Linked DNA regions of Homo sapiens: regions 1 and 2 are each linked to region 3. The links are contacts of gene promoters, found by promoter capture Hi-C in blood cells and fetal thymus (Javierre and others, 2016). All regions are on one chromosome and are shown on one strand. Each heading gives the region's core, a stretch centred on a gene start or on the middle of the fragment in contact. The rest is flanking DNA. Distances are from core to core; before and after follow the strand shown.

The links. Contacts are between HindIII fragments. The CHiCAGO score rates a contact against its expected background, and 5 or more counts as called.
Region 1: a contact is called between a fragment that was not itself captured here and the fragment with the promoter of ISX in region 3, in 1 of 17 cell types (endothelial precursors). The highest score is 5.1, in endothelial precursors.
Region 2: a contact is called between a fragment that was not itself captured here and the fragment with the promoter of ISX in region 3, in 1 of 17 cell types (endothelial precursors). The highest score is 5.5, in endothelial precursors.

What each region holds. Positions count from the first base shown.
Region 1 is chr22:33,241,316-33,244,208 of GRCh38, reverse strand. It overlaps a transcript of LARGE1 not described here. Among named protein-coding and RNA genes, the nearest start is that of LARGE1-AS2, 78 kb to the right of the region's middle. The HindIII fragment of the contact is 654 bases long and covers 997-1,650 here.
Region 2 is chr22:33,562,964-33,565,897 of GRCh38, reverse strand. It overlaps LARGE1 (LARGE xylosyl- and glucuronyltransferase 1), which reads left to right. Exons shown (of 15, transcript NM_133642.5): 6 at 879-1,050. Among named protein-coding and RNA genes, the nearest start is that of MIR4764, 130 kb to the right of the region's middle. The HindIII fragment of the contact is 1,318 bases long and covers 938-2,255 here.
Region 3 is chr22:35,064,402-35,067,611 of GRCh38, reverse strand. ISX (intestine specific homeobox) reads right to left here and starts at 1,454. Exons shown (of 5, transcript NM_001303508.2): 1 at 1,150-1,454; 2 at 296-860. The coding sequence starts at 524. The HindIII fragment of the contact is 3,728 bases long and covers 226-3,210 here.

The DNA.
Region 1 (2,893 bases), core at 74-2,573, 1.8 Mb after region 3:
CCTGGTTAACATGGTGAAGCCCCGTCTCTACTAAAAATACAAAAAAAAAAAAATTAGCTGGGCTTGGTGGCGGGTGCCTGTAATCCCAGCTATTTGGGAGGCTGAGGCAGGAGAATGGCATGAACCCAGGAGGCGGAGCTTACAGTGAGCCGAGATCGCGCCACTGCACTCCAGCCTGGGCGACAGAGCAAGACTCCGCCTCAAAACAAAACAAAACAAAACAAAAAACTGTAAACCACCACACAAAGTGAAATGACCACATTATTTACTATTGGAATGATGATACCTACACTTTTGCCTGGAGTGGGTTTCAGGACTTTTATTGAGAATGGGCTCCATGGGTAAGTCCCTAACGCCAATGAATGCTTGGCTGATTTTACTACTTTCAGAATAAAAAAAGGTGACCTGAAAACTCTTTATGCATGACTCAACACTTTCATGTCTAAATATTTATCCAAAAGAAATAAGAACATATGCCCACAAAAAAATATTAGCACATGAATGCTCATAGAAGGCCTGTTCAGGAAAGCCTGAAACTGGAAACAACCCAACTGTCCAACAACAAATGAACGGATAGAGAAATGTTGGTATATTTATGAAGTGAAATTCTACTCAGCAATAAAAGGAAAAAATTACTGATACACATAAAATGGATGACTCTCACAGGCATTACATTTACAGAAAAATTGCCTGACATTAAAGACTACAAAGTATATAATTCCAAGGAATATTTGATGTTCTAGAATAGACAAAACTAATCATTGGTGACAGAAATCAAATAAGTGGTTGTCAGAATGGTGATTGGGTTGGGGAATATTGATTAAAAAGAGAAGCAAAGGAACTTTCTGAGGTGATAAAAAATGTTTTATATCTTGATAGTGGTAGAAGTTAAATAGATGTGTACATGTGTCAAAACGCATCAAACTGTACACTTAAAATATACATAAATTATATCTAAATAAAGTTTTACTTAAAAGTATGTTTTGATATAAAGCTTTATTTAAAGTTTTCAATGGTTATTGTTAATTCTGTCTTGTTATGGGTTGAATTAGCTCTACTGCCCCCCATGCAAATTCATATGCTGAAGTCCTAACCCTTGCTACCTCAGAATGTGACTATTTGTAAATGGAGTCATTGTAGATGGAATTAGATGAGTTTAGATGAGGTCATCCTGGAGAAAGGTGAGCACTCAATCCAATGTGACTGATGTCCTTATAGAAAGGGGAAATTCAGACAAATAGAGACACACACAGGGAAAATGCCATGTGGAGAGGAAGGCAGAGATGGAGGTGATGCTTGTACTAGGCAAAAATGTCAAAGATTGCCAGCAAACCACCAGAAGCTGGTGTAGAAACATGGGGCAGGCTGTTCTTCACAGTCTTCAAATGGAACCAAACCTATGTGACATCTCAGACTTCGAGGCTCCAGAACTGTGAGACAATACTTTTCTGTTGATATGCCACCAGTTGTGGTACTTTGTTACAGCAGCCCTAGCAAACTCATACATGTCCCTAGAGTTTAGTTCTCACTTTCACTAACTGCTCAACTCAACTATGTTAATTGAGCACCCTCAAGACCCTGTGAGAAAAACATAAATAAAAATTGTCCTCCTTGGATAACATATATATGAAAAAAACGGAAAGAAAAGCTTAGTTCTGTTAGTTCCCAGCAGGAGTGCTGAGATCGTGTCCATATGAACCAAAATTGTATAAAATAGCTTTAAAAAGTACAGAGCCAACATAATCACCTAACAGTGTGCAATTCTCAGTCTATCTAGCAATAGACTGAGAATGTGTCACTCAGCCAACACATTTCTGTTCTAGTTTAAGAAATCTACTTGGGGAAGTGCATTAAGACTAGAAGATTGATAGGTGCATATAAATTGAATTTGGTTAAGGGATATTTTTAACAAGTTCTGGGAGCAGAATGAATCACCTCTCTCCACCAGAGGTACATAACTGCCCTGAGGTCATTAGTGATTCAGGGTTCCCACCTGCTAAGAGTATTCTATGAACATACTGACAGTCTACTTACTATTCATTCTTTATCTTTAAAATTTTATTTTTAATTGAAAAAATAATATTTTAAATATATTTATTGGGCACAATGTGATGTTTTGATATATGTTTACAATGTGAAATGATTAAATCAGGCTAGTCAACATATTCACTACCTCACATACTTATTTTTCTATGGTGAAAACATTTAAGATCTACTTTTAGCAATTTTGAATTATGTAATGCATTATTAATTATAGTCACCATTCTGTGAAATAGATCACTAAAGCTGATTCCTCTTGTCTAAATGAAACTTTCTACCCTTTGATGGACAGCTATGCTTTCCCCATCCTCTCCCGTCCCCCAGCCCTTGGTAACCATCATCCTACTCTCTACTTGTAGGAGTTCAACTTGTTTAGATTTTGTGAGTGAGAACATGTGGTATTTGCCTTTAGAGTCCTCTAGGTTTATCCATATTGTGTTAAATGACAGGATTCCCTGCCTTTTTAAGGCTGAATAGTATTTCATTGTAATATATATACATACACACACACATATACACACACATATATATACATATATACATATATGTACATAGATACATATATATGTACATATATACACACACATATACACACATATATACACATATATACATATACATATATACACATATATGTACATATATATAACTTTTTTTCATTTATCCATTCACTTAATACATATGATGGAGGGCTTTATATATGCCAGGCTCTGTGATGAATGCTGGAAATTCAATAGTGAGAAAGACTCAGTCTCTGCCTCCAAAGAGCATCATGGGCTAGGTGCTGCAACGAGGAATTGCCAACTGTTGTCATGAGAGCACAGAGAAGGGACTCAACCAGCCTTGAAGAATC
Region 2 (2,934 bases), core at 347-2,846, 1.5 Mb after region 3:
TTTCATCACACTGGTGCTTTTATTTTTATCCTTGCCTTTGGACACAAAATGGCACCCGTGTGTGTACCTCGCTGATGACTCTGCCCACCTGCAAGCCATTGATTGTTCCATTATGTTATGTGAGGATCATAATGTCAGTGCTCCATGGGTGGTTCATTTCTGTCCTATGTGTGTGTCCTCTATTGCTGTCAGGTGAAGAGTGTCGCGTGATGACTAGGTCCTCCTTGACTAGGAGGTGAAGAGTGTCACGTGATGACTAGGTCCTCCTTCTGTCCTATGTGTGTGTCCTCTATTGCTGTCAGGTGAAGAGTGTCGCGTGATGACTAGGTCCTCTTATTTATCTGAGAATAAAGAGAAGGCAGCAGTAGTAATCTATTCAATTACAGTTTTAAAAGAATAAGCATAAGCTTTAACAATACTACTGCCCACTAATCTTTAATGACACGTAAATGGAATATGATTTAAAGAAATATACGTACATAGGAACAATTTGATACTGGTTGCAAAAGTATTTGTAGTGGGATTCAATTTTTGGACCTTTATGTTTTTGCATATCCTTTTTTTCTCTAGTGGATCTATTTAATTTCTATAATAACAAAAGTTTTATTTAAAAATCTCAACATAGGATTTGCAGTAATAATTATTTCATAACTATTACTTTTCCTCTCCCTTAATTCAGATACATTTTCCTCCAGAAAACTTCACATGTCAAAATGCAAATTATATAAATCTTTAAAAGAAAACTCATTCATTTATTCAACAAATTTTTATTGGATACTTTTTGTGTGCTAGGCACTATTTATAATGTTTAAGCAAAGAATTAATATAGCAATTTTTTTTCCCTTTCTCCAACTCTCTCTCTGCCTTGTTCTGTCTAGTCTGAAGTTTCCTGGATCCCCAATAAACATTACTCTGGGATTTATGGTCTGATGAAGCTTGTCCTGACCAAGACTCTTCCTGCCAACCTGGAGAGAGTCATCGTCCTTGACACGGATATCACCTTTGCCACTGACATTGCAGAGCTGTGGGCTGTGTTCCACAAGTTCAAAGGTAATGGTAGCCCATTCGTTTTTTCCCCGATATCCTTGTAGGTATCAGCATGCCAAGAATAGGGGTTGACTTTTTTAAAAAGGTGAGGTCTCCTCGAATGAGGTCGTGCTAATGCAGTGGGTGAGGAATTACAAATATGGTTCAATATCAACTCTGCTTGGATTTGAAAAATAATAGAGTAAAACAGAAACTTGTTTACATGTCTTTAGTAAATGAAGATGTTTTTAACAGATAAATATCAAATGTGTGTATTTTGTATGCAGATAGCGGAGTGTTCACATACTGGTCGGGACGTGTGTTCATTGGTTTTCTTTTTATCGAAGGATAGTCTAATTGCCAAGAAAGCCTGTGAGGTAGTAGAGATGAGTATTGATTCTAGAGTTTTTGAAAATGTTCATATGGCTTTTGCTTTCATTAACGTTGTGGTTTATCATTTTAAGGAGATGTATGTATTTGGCTTTCTTTACAAGACGTTCTTTCTAGTCTGGTGGGTTTCTTTATAGCTATTATTGTAACTCTCGTCACGGCCTCAAGGTATATGAGAGTACCTAGGGGGAAATTGTGAGCTCAGTAGGTGTACTAACTGTGGCATGGATATGTGAGAGAAGTGGCAGGTTAGCACAAATCTTAGGCTGTTATTTTAATACCCCTCTCCCAGATGTCTTTTTAAAAATTATATTATTTTAAAAATTCTTCTATACTGGATGAGTACAATGAGAAAGAAATTCGACAGTGAAATTTTTAGTTTTATATATTTTTTTAATTGCACGCTAGCCCCTTCTGTGTTTAAAATCCCTTCTGCCATTCCTCTTAGCTCCATATCCTATGAAAGCAAAATACTACTTAATGATTTTAAATCCCAGCATTTTCATAAATCACAGGATATTCCTGTTGGTTTCTGTTTCTATTCATGAACAGAGAGTAAATTTCCTTGCTTGCCCTGGTCACTCCCTGCTTCCTTCTCAGGGCTTCTGAGCTCTGGGCTAATTGAGGAAAGTCTTCACCAAATCATGGGAATGACATTTTGATCCCCGGGACTCTTTCCCTTATCAGGATCAAAATTTACTTTTCTTATTCGTGTCAATAATGACACTAACAATGACATCATTTAGGACAGCTGTTGAAATTGAGTATGGCACAGCTCTCTAATCTTCATAGAACGTGTGGACGTGTCCTTTTGTTTCATAAAGAAAGAAACGGAAGCTTAGAGGGATGCAGGCTTTTCCCAGAGTTGAGATCAGAGTGCCCGTGTCTTGGCTTCCATCCGCTGCTCTTTTCAAGTTCCCCTATCGTGTCTGTTTGTTTTTCTCTTCCTGATCACAGTGAACTCACGAGGGGCAGTTTTTCTATAATTACATGGTGTTTTATTCATTTTCTTATGCTGATGTTGAGTGTTCAGTGATGCATTTCTTCAACTGGCGTTTATCGAATCCCTACTGGGTGTGAAGCAGTGTGACGGGCTCTGCAAATGAGGAGATGAGTAATGAGGGGACAGTGAGAGTTGTCACCTCTCCTAGAGGGGGTTAGAGAAGGTAGCTGGGAAGGTGTCACGGAGGAGCTCCTAATTGTGCTCTGTCTCATCAGATGAGAATGGTGGTCGTATGTACTAGACTCCCACATTTTCCTTTGGGAATAAAGGCCTTATTACGCCAGCTGGTGGGAGCAGTCCCTGCAGCGGGGGCTCTCAGAAAAGGCATCAGCCCTTTTTGCAGTTGCCTCTGTTGAAGTGAGTGGCCATGCCTGTGGCCACACCCCTTCGTGGGACACCCCACATCACGGAATGGCTGATGAACATGAGGTCCTGCAGGATCATCTGCCACACTCGGATACTGCCTCACAGGCTGATTTTCCCCTCTGCCTAGTCCTGCTTTCTCCCCTTCCCTT
Region 3 (3,210 bases), core at 205-2,704:
GACATTGTCAATGCTGAATAAATGGTAACTAGCATTCTTAGCCGGGGCCTGGTTACAATAACAAGCCCCAGGTCCCTGCATTCTGCAACTAACTGAGCCTTGGTGTCTGAAGCTGAAAAGCACAGTTTTGGGTTAGATTGAAAGGTATATCAGGAAACCAGCCCAGAGCCAGGTCTTGCTCTGAATTTTAGAGTCCTCTATCCAGTTAATATGGACGGAGAAGCTTTTTCTCTGCCTGAGCCCAGCTGGGTCTTGGAGACCAGGAAACAGAAAGAAATGATCAGAAGACACTTACCCTGGGGCTGGTCCTTTGGAGGCTTTTCTAGCCCAGAGCCTGAGGCCGCAGCTTCTCCGGGGCCCTCTTCACCTGGCCCTTCTGGTCTGTCCATATCACTCCTCCTGGCAGGCCTCTTTAGGATCGCCTCAATGGAGAAGGACAGGCTCAGCTTCTTCGGGGCCTCACAGCACCCCAAGCTATTTCTCTCCATACCCCTGCAGAGAGCAGGGCCCACCTCAGCACACATTGAGGGGCTCAGGGGTGACTCTGTGTAGGCCAAGGAGGGTGCCAGTGGAGAGTGGCGTACTTCCTCCCCTGAACCTCCTGGGGTCAAGAGGGCGCGTGGAGGTGAAGAACAGAGAGCCTCCAGTTAGATGATCCAAACAGGATTTCGTGTCCACAGGGACTTCCATGGGCAGGTCACAGCAGAAGAGCTGGAAGGAGTGGTATCCTGTGCCCACGGCTCAGCCCTTACCAGTTTGACATCAAAGGAGTCACCATGGCTGAATTGGGGTTCAATCTTCCAGAGAAGGGTCTTCTCGGACACAGTTGCCTGCACAATCACCAGGTTAGGCCAGGATCCCTGAGGTCACCGCCCAGTGGCGAACAAAGAGAAGAGGGAGAAACAATAAGGCACAGGAAAGAGGAGGTCAGTCTCCAGAGGAGGTTTGGAGGCAGGGGTCCACCTTTGCCCTTTCTCTGGCTTCTGGCCCTTTCCTGTGGCTCTAGCCAGCCTTTAGGAGGAGGTTGGAGTGCCACCCTTGGCCTCAGGTGGCCAATTCAGTCCTGGGCTTTACTGCAGCTTGAGGGGTCTTCCCAGACACCCGTGTTTACTTCCTTCAGTTCTGCTGCTTCCAGACTCCAGAACGTACCTTCAGCGCATCAGTGCTCCTGCTGTCCTGCAGGTGGAGGCTGAGGAAAGGGGGTCCCTGGGTGCTGCCAGGCCTGTCTCTTCTCTGTGCCAGGGCTGGGCTGAGCTGTGGGTCTGATTCTTCTCAGGTGCCTCTGGGCTGGCCCTGGCTTTTTTTCTGTTCTATTTTCCCTGACGTCACTTTACATGCGAAGCCCTCTCTCCACAAGCGCCTGACCCAGGGTACCTCTCCCTTCCTTGTGGGGTCCTTTATGCTGTTTCTCCCAGTCTCCTGAGACAGACTGAAGAGGCCCTTTCTCTCTGACTGGGAGCTGACAGTTGTTGATCTGTCCTTGCCTGGAATTTTGCTCCAAATTACTGTGTAACCAAGGAGGAGGGGGCAGTAAAACAGGCTGATAAGAGAAAAACTCTCCACGCCCCTTAAGGCTGGGGATGCAGGTGTCAGGGTAGAAAAGTGGCAGGAGGCAGTGGGGATCTGAAGGACAGGTATTGGAGGCCCCAGGGAGGGGCTGTGCTGGGGAACTGGCCAGAGCAGGGGAAGGGAAGGTGGGAGCAGAATGGCCAGGAAGTGTACCCAGGCCCAATAAAACATGTTTACTCAGCCAGGAGAGCCTGTGGTCATGTGTGGGGGAGGCTGGGCTGAGGTGCAGTCTGCTGGCTGTCAGCCTTAGGCATTCATTTGCTCTCAGATGTGCTTTCCATGGCTTGCAAATATCAGATCAGGAAAAGCATTCCAGGGCTTTCTGATATGGGGAAACTGAGGTCCAGACCAAGGAGGTACAGAAAATGTGATGGCAGGGCCTGATCACAGTACTCCCCTGGGGATGTCCATGATGCCATGCTGGCCACAAGGAGCCAATTTGCACAGGAGGGATGGATACCCTGGCAGAGACTGTGAATGTAAATTTGGATGTTAGAATCTAGATCTTCTCATAGAGGGCAGGGGTGGGAGGTGAAGGATAGGGAACGTTGGTCTCCACTCCCTGAGAAGAGTGAGTCAGGAGAGAGAGGGACTCACCCTGAGAGAGGGAACAGGTAAAGATGCCCCATTTTAGGAGCTGTGCCCCTTGGAAGTGTCAGGCTGTCTGATTTAGTTAGGGGGGGAATAGGCTCTGCTGTAGTAGCAAGTAAACCCTATAGTCTTGGGAGCATAATAGCTCACCCACATCACATTCTAATGTAGTCATTTAGGGACCCAGATTCCTTTCAAACAGTGATGCCACCATTCTCCAATCATAGGCTCCAAGTTTTCTGGGGAAAGGGAGACAGCAAAGGAGAATTTTTTTTTTTTAATTTTAAGTTCTGGGATACATGTGCAGAATGTGCAGGTTTGTTACATAGGTATACATGTGCCTTGGTGCTTTGCTGTACCTATCACCCCATCATCTAGGTTTAAGTCCTGCGTGCATTAGGTATTTGTCCTAATGCTCTCCCTCCCCTTGCCCCCAACCCCTTGACTGGCCCCAGTGTGTATTTTCCCCCTCCCTGTGTCCATGTGTTCTCATTGTTCAACTCCCACCTATGAGTGAGAACATTCAGTATTTGGTTTTCTGTTGAAAGGAGAAATTTTGATGAGTCAGAAGTGGAAGTGGTTGATAGACCTTCTGCTCACATTCTGTGGCCAGAGGGAGTCACATGACCCTGCTTAGACCTATCCCTTTCCTAGGGCTGGACAGGGGAGTTTTCCTGCCAGGAGACAAATGAACCAGTTTGTTGACTTTTGCAGTGAAGAGGCCAGAGTCCCCTAGAAGTCAGGCCCACCATTGGTCCATGGAAGGGGTTGTTGGATGAGAGGACAAGGTTCCTTACACTCAGGGCAGAGGAAGCTCTGATGGGTACTTGAGATGCTTGGTCAAGAGCAAGGACAGGATCTTTGGGGGTGGAAGTGGCAGAGGCAAAAAGAGAGAGGCGATGGAGCCCTTTCTCTCTGCTGGACCTCGTGCCTGCAGCTGTGTGCTCACCGTTTCACTTAATCCATTCAACAGCCTGATCAATTAGGTGTCATTAATGCCATTTAACAGCTGAGGAGACATGCCCAGAGAAGTGGAGTGATAGGACAGCT